Linked DNA regions of Homo sapiens: region 1 is linked to region 2. Evidence: promoter capture Hi-C in 16 types of primary human blood cells and fetal thymus (Javierre and others, 2016). All regions are on one chromosome and are shown on one strand. The core of a region is centred on a gene start or on the middle of the fragment in contact, and the rest is flanking DNA. Distances in the headings are between cores, read along the strand shown.

Evidence for each region. Contacts are between HindIII fragments. The CHiCAGO score rates a contact against its expected background, and 5 or more counts as called.
Region 1: a contact is called between a fragment that was not itself captured here and the fragment with the promoter of STX17 in region 2, in 2 of 17 cell types (naive CD4 T cells and total CD8 T cells). The highest score is 6.0, in naive CD4 T cells.

Annotation. Positions count from the first base shown.
Region 1 is chr9:99,799,731-99,803,572 of GRCh38, forward strand. All of the region lies in intron 2 of LOC101928438 (a long non-coding RNA gene), which reads right to left. Among named protein-coding and RNA genes, the nearest start is that of NR4A3, 20 kb to the right of the region's middle. The HindIII fragment of the contact is 1,895 bases long and covers 1,478-3,372 here.
Region 2 is chr9:99,904,804-99,908,279 of GRCh38, forward strand. It overlaps STX17 (syntaxin 17), which reads left to right and starts at 1,851. Exons shown (of 8, transcript NM_017919.3): 1 at 1,851-1,903. STX17-DT (STX17 divergent transcript) reads right to left here and starts at 1,798. Exons shown (of 3, transcript NR_038853.1): 1 at 1,751-1,798. RefSeq lists a silencer at 1,590-1,989 and an enhancer at 2,150-2,389. The HindIII fragment of the contact is 1,410 bases long and covers 682-2,091 here.

The DNA of each region.
Region 1 (3,842 bases), core at 1,175-3,674, 100 kb before region 2:
GCTACTTGGGAGGCTCAGGCAGGAGAATTGCTTGAACTCAGGAGGCAGAGGTTGCAGTGGGCTGAGATCATGCCACTGCACTCCAGCTTGGGCAACAGAGCAAGACTCTATCTCAAAAAAAAAAAAAATTACCATCACAGAATTTGGATCATTGGATACATGCAGAGGACCTCCAATAAAAAAGGACCTCCAAATAAAAAAGTACATGGAAAAAACTCCTGGGGCATAACCAGACCCCTGTGACTAGAGCACAGGGAAGAAACATGAATGATAAGGACATAGTACCAATAAAATGGAAGTGCAGAGAATCTATTCTCAGGCAATTTCCAATTAAAAATCTTACTGCTGCAAATAATTTGTTCAGCTCCCAATTCTTTTATTTGTATTTCTTCTCATTTATTCATAACTGACCCCTGATAAACTATAGCAAAAATACAACCATGTGTGTACAAGAAGGGGTCACAGCAAAAGGATAGAAATAGAGAAAGGAAAATAGTAGAGAAAGAAAAATAGAAGGAAACTATTCTAAATTATGACACCAAGCAGATAGGAGTGTATTCACCTGTATAAGAGCAGAGACCATGTCATCAGCAGGTTGATTATTCTTTTTAAATTTTTCATTTCTGACTACATATATAACAGACCCATGCTAACTAAGGATGCAGAGACAGATCCCTGGAGGCAACCAGTATCATTTTAGAAAGGAAACCTTTGGCCCAATGGGACTTCGAACTGCACCTAATAAGCCAATGGCATTGCTAACAAGTCAGTGATATTTGGGGTATAGTACTGAATAGAGGCTACATAACACAAGGGCGAAAAGTACACAACTACTTCAGTCCTTGTGCCAGGCACGGTAGCTCACACCTGTAATCCCAGCACTTACGGAGGCAGAGGCACGAGGATAGCTTGAGTCCAGGAGTTCAAGACCTGCCTGAGCAACATAGTGAGGCCCTGTTCTCCAGAAAAAGGGGGGAAAAAAAAAAGATTAAAAAAATAGTAAGTTGGAACTCATTGTGCTCCCTGGTTAAAGTGCCAATTCAGTATTTACTGCACACCTGTTATAGGAAAGACACTATTTTCGGCACAGAGAGGGATACCTGGAGAAATTTGGTATGATCCAGGTCCACTAAGAATGCACAAAGTAGATGAGCCAAATGTGTACACGATAATGCAATTTAGAGTGTTGTGAGTATGTTTAAAACGCAGCATGGAAGGAAAAATAAGTCATCCATTAATCTTAATAAGAGAAATGGAGGAAGTTTCATGGCAAAGCCAGAAAGGACTCCTAAGAAAAGTTTTCATTGTGTTTCTTCATTTTATAATTGTTTTAACTATAAAGGTAATACGTGTTTACTATAGAAAATCCAAAAATACAAATAAGCAAAAAAAAAGAACACAAACCACTGCATTTCTGTATATCCCATTTCTTTATTTATTTATAAAAGTGAGAACATATTGTACATAATTTTCAGTAAGCTTGTTTTTAGGCAATAATATATTACAGCCATCTTTCCATGTTATTTATTATACTTCTACAACTGACTTTTATATTTAAATAGGTGCACATCAAAAGGTATAAAAGAGGACACAGTAAAAGCCTGACTCTCTCATCCCATGACCCATGACCTTATAATTTTAACCAGAAGCAGCCACTGTTACATTTTTTGTGATCCTTCCAGTTTCTTGTGATCCCTCCATAAATATTCTATGAATATATGAGCATACATGTATATATTTCTCTTTTTAAGTAAATGGTAGCTGTGAACACACGGTTCTGTACCTTGCATTTCTCTCCCCAGTCAGTACATATATCACTGCCTCTCAGTGGCTGCAGTGTTTCAATGTATGGATAAACAATAATTTACTCAGTCCCCTTTGATGGACATTCAGAATGTTTCCAACTCAGTCCCCTTTGATGGACATTCAGAATGCTTCCAATCTTTTACTATTACAATATTACTAGGTATATCCTCCAAGTGTAAACATGTATATATTTGTGGGTATATCTGTAGGAAAAATTGCTGGAAGTGGAATTTTGAGGTCAAAGAACATGTATGTTTTAAAATTTGACAGATATCACACAGTGTCCTCCACTAAGGCATTCCTAATTTCTACTCCTTCCAACTACAAATGAGACTGTTACCACACCTGTGGTTCCCCAGCCAGATAATGTTTTCCATTTCCCTCCCCTGGAACACACATCTTGCAGACAGGTGAGGTAACGCATCTAGTTCCGGCCAATGGAATGTGGGAATGTGAACAGAACTGATGTGTGTCGTATCCAGGCCAAGGTAACTGAGAAGAAAGTATGCATTCTCCACCCTATCTCTGCAATTCTGTCCACTGGAAACAGAAGAATTCAAGGCCCTAGGGAATGGTGGATCCCTATAATGGAAGGAGCCTATGTCCCTGAGTTACCATACAGAAAAAAACAACTGTCTGCCAACCAGAAACATCCGCAGTGGACTATTACATGAGGGAAAAATAAATTTATATTTTATTAAGCCACTGAAAAGTTGGTATTTGTTGTAACATCTCGCTTTACCCTAACTAATACACCAAGATACCCTTTTTTATATAAACATCAGATCTACAGTTCTGAAGATACTCTTAGGGAATGTTGCTCAAGTATTTCAAAATTAACTTTCAAAGTTAACTATGATATTGGCTGTACTGTTAAGAAAATAGCCTTCATTTCCTGGATTAACAAGAGCTGTTTTTTGTTTCTTTGGTTTTTATCAAGAATGAGTAGTGATTTATCAAATACCTTTGCAGTATTTGTGAAAATGATTCTAAGTTTTTTTCCTTTGATCTATTAGAGTGATATCTTACATTAGTATTTCCTAATGTTGAAATAGTCTCACATTTCTAAAATAAACCATGTTTACTTGTATATTTTATTTTGTATATGCTGTTGAATGCAAGGGAATAACTGAAACAAAATAATAGATTGGGTAATTCTTTAAACATGATTTATAAATTTTAAATTTCAATTGAGGAAGTAAAAAGTACAGGAGACCCTCCAAAGAACAAATCTGTTATCTGGAAAAGCAGGTGAATGTGTATCACATTATCTGGAGCAAAAAAAAAAGAAATGGAATTCTTGAATAAAAAGATGAGAGAACTAACCAGCAGGTCCAGGAGGTCTAATTGGAAATAAAAGGCATTCAGAGAGAGAACAAGGACCATAATGGAAAAAGTAATAATCAAAACATAATACAAGAAAACTTCCCTCAGGAGGAGACTAGAATTATGAAATCAAAAGGGCTCATTGAGTACCAGACAGGATAAATGAAAAAGGGCATATACCTATATATATATCCTAGTCAGATTTCTAATTTCTGAGCTTCAAAATAAAGAAAACAGAAAAGCTTTTAGAAAGTAAGAACGAGTTACTTATAAACAAATGAGCTTGAGGCTGTCATTGGACATGGTTAAGAACACGGGCACTGAATGAAGTAAGGCTACCTGGGTTCAAATTTTGGTGTGAACTTAGGTTGGGTTGCTTAACTTCTTTATGCTTCTGTAAAATAGGGACAATGTTAGTACTTAGCTTCTCAGGTTGGCTGGAAGCAACATCTGATATAATACATGGAAGAGCCTAGCACACACAGTCAGTATACTTCTATCTGTTAACATCTAAAGCTGTATGAGTGAGTCAAAATTTTACACATTTTTGAGAAGATAAAAGCCCGAACCCTCCTCAGAACATAGCATACAGCACTAATAGTCTGAAGAACTGCACAACAGCCCCACTCTAACATCTCTAATGGTAGCTGAGCCCCATGCTAGTGAGAAGTGAGGTGGTGGGCAGAAGGAATCTCACTGACTTATTTCAA
Region 2 (3,476 bases), core at 601-3,100:
TATTCCATGGATTTTCCAAGAAAGCAATCAATCATAACACCCTAAGAATTTTTTTTAATTTTCTTTCCAACATATACACTTAATGTTTTGTTTGGACTTGCTGGGTTCAGTTAGGACTTCAGGAAAATGTCGGCCAGTAGTAGCAGGCCTGCCCCTAACAACTTGATGACCTAGAGTACACAAAAGAGGTCCACACACCATATGTTTGAATATTTAAAGATTATAAATCAAGCTAACCAACAGTTAGATTAAAAGGTTTTGGTCGGGCATGGTGGCTCACACCTGTAATCCCAGTACTTTGGGAGGCCGAGGCGGGCGGATCACGAGGTCAGGAGATCAAGACCATCCTGGCTAACATGGTGAAACTCTGTCTCTATTAAAAATACAAAAAATTAGCCGGGCATGTTGGCACACGCCTGTAGTCCCAGCTACTCAGGAGGCTGACACAGGATAATCGCTTGAATCTGGGAGGTGGAGGTTGCAGTGAGCTGAGATCATGCCACTGCACTCCAGCCTGGGCGAAAGAGCAAGACTCTGTCTAAAAAAAAAAAAAAAAAAAAAATGTTTATCCTACTACTTTGACACACCTAACTTACAGCAAACATACATATAACAACTTAGAAGTCCAGGTCCAAATTTAGAATCTTTGAGTACCACACCTCCTGATTTTGTACCTGAGGAAGCTTTTTCAGAACTTAACACAAATGATCTTTTATTTCAAAAGATCTTATTTCACTGATCCTTGCATAAAAAACATTTTCTCACAGTATTGCCTAATACTTTAATTTTTCTCCTTAGAATCAAAATTTGATAAATACATTCTGGAGCTCATTGTAAAACAAATATCAGTATACATTATGTCCCCAAAGAAAATCCAAATTGCTTGGTAGATTTGGTGCTTTGTTTTAGAAATTGTCTTTCAAGGCTTTTTAAAGGATCTACAGGCCCCTAATCTTCCCTGTTTACCTCCTACTCTACTGGAAGACCCTAAGAACTCAGTTTCCTTAACTGTGGTTTGAACATCCTGATCACTTCTGAGACAATGCCATTAGTGAATACATTCTAAGCACGTCATCTGAATATTCACAGACATCTTTTTAAAAGGGCTGGATCTGGAAGTTAGGCCATGAAGAGAGGAGGACCTGTGACTTGGACAAGGCTTCAAAGCCGGCCACCTGCTTGTTCATGTGGTTGCAGCTGGTCTAACTGGAATAACTTGGGAAGGAAATTAGGACACCCAGTTGGAGTTCCAGCTCTGCCATAAGCTGGCTGAACTGGAGTGAGTCACTTAAAACTCTTTGTTAAACCCCAGAGTCATAATCTATAAAATCGGGATAAAGACGTTTGCCTTAAGCCCTCCACCAGTTTTTGGAGGAAACCACAATTTGCTGAGCTTTAATTTTTACACCTGTTGCAATTAAGATGGCACTCCTGCCCTGTCCACTTCACAGGGCTTTTGGGGACGGGATGGGGAGGCACCACCTTTCTGAGCTTCAGTTTCAAAACAGAGCTAAGAATACATGCCCAACCCGCAAATAAAATTCTAGGAAGAACAGAGGAAAACGGACAGGAAAACTGCGAAATGCAGTCGGCCATACAAGCATGAATTGTCTTAAACACAACAAGCAGACCTAAAGAGCGTTTGTGCGTCTCTCTCCTCTTGGCTCGAGTCACAACCCCATAACGTAAATCAATATCACTTTTGAAAAAGGCTTTCGCTGTTCTCAGCAGCGTCCGCATTTGTACTCACCTGTGCGCCCCCAGCGCCCGGCCTGGGGGCCCTGCGGGGCGGGGGCGGGGGCGGGGGCGGGGCCCAACCCTGCCCACCCCTCGTGATGCCCCGCCCCGTCGCTCCTGCGCCTGCGCCGTGCCCACCGACCGGCCTCGAGCGCCCCGGCGGGAGGTAAGGGGCTCTCTGGAGGCCGCCTTTGGGGGCGTCGGGCCCTCACAGGCTTGGTGGGCCTGGCGCCCGTGTGGCGCGCGCAAGAGGCGCTGGGCGGCAAGTAGGGCATTGGATCCGAAGTGCGAGCGCCATGGTGGCTCCTCCTGTTTTTCAGAAGTGGCGGAGCCTCGCTTGGTTTCGTTTTTGGAAGCTTTATTGGAAGCTGGTATAGGGAGGCCGCAGACGATGCGAGCAGGACGGCCTCCCGGGGTCGCGGGGTGGAAAAGTTTCCGGCGCGCGTCCTGTCTCTGGCGCGCTGTAGGCCCCGGGTCGCCAGGGTCGCTGGCGTCTGGGTCCCGGGACAGACCCGCGCATCCGTTCGCTGGTGGGGGCGTTTGGTGTGTGTGGCCCAGGTGTGCTGTGGGTGACACTGCGAGGAATGACGCGACGCTCGATGGTAGTGAGGCTCGGAGGACTGGGAGCGAGAGGCCGGAAGCCCCTGCTCGCCAAACCCAGAGGTGGTTGGCAGAAGGTCCCACACCTTGGCTCCCTCCTTTTAGCTAACCGAGGTTCAGAGAGGAGACTTTACTTTGACTTTTCTCTCCAAATTCGGTATCTCTTCCATAAGTCAGAAACATTAAGCGGCGGGCCGGAAGAAATCGGGCGCCACTAGTATCCTGAAAAGTGGGAGCTCTGGGCCGATGGAAGGTGTTCGTCACTTTTGGGGGCTGGGTTTCCTGAGAAATGGGGTCTTTCACTTATTAATAACCTCCTAAGTAACTTACTGGGAAACATGAGTATTATGGTACCCATCTCATATTAGTTGTAAGCACTACATGATAAAGTTTGTAAAGCACCTGGCACAGTCCTGGCACCCCTCTCTCCAAGTATTAATGCAGTGAATACGATGGCAGTTCTTTGACTTCTAAATGTTTTTACCTGTCTTACGTGAAACATCCTCTTATACTAAAAAACTTTTTTATTTTGAAATAATTTTAAAATTACAGAAAAGTTTCAAAAGTAATACAGAGTTCCCTATTGCCTCCATTAATAATTTTTTACATACCATAGCGCAATTATCAAAAGCAAGAAGTTAATATTAGTATAATACTATTAACTGAATTACTAACTTGTGATTTTTTTTCCTGTATTAATGTCCTTTTTCTATTCTAGGATCCACTCTAAGACCCGACATTGCAGTTAGTTGTCTTGGGTCCTTGGTCTCCTCCAGTCTGTGACAGTTCCTCTGTCTTTTCCTGTCTTTACACTGATAGTCTTTTTCTGTCTTTATACTCTTTCTGATCTTTACACTTTTGAAGAATGCTGGTCAGTTATTTTGTAGAGTGCCCCTCAAATGGGGTTTGTCCAGTGTTCTCTCATGATTAGATTAAGGTTATACATTTTTGTTAAGAACACAAAAGTGTGTGTGCCCTTCTCAGTTCATCATATGAGCATAGCTGATATATATGACTTATTGCTCGTGAGGTTAATCTTGATCACTTGGTAGAGAGTGTCTGCTGGGATTCTCCAATGTAAAGGTCTTATTTTTCTCCTTATAATTGACATCTTGGGGGGGAGCTTTTAAACCGTACGC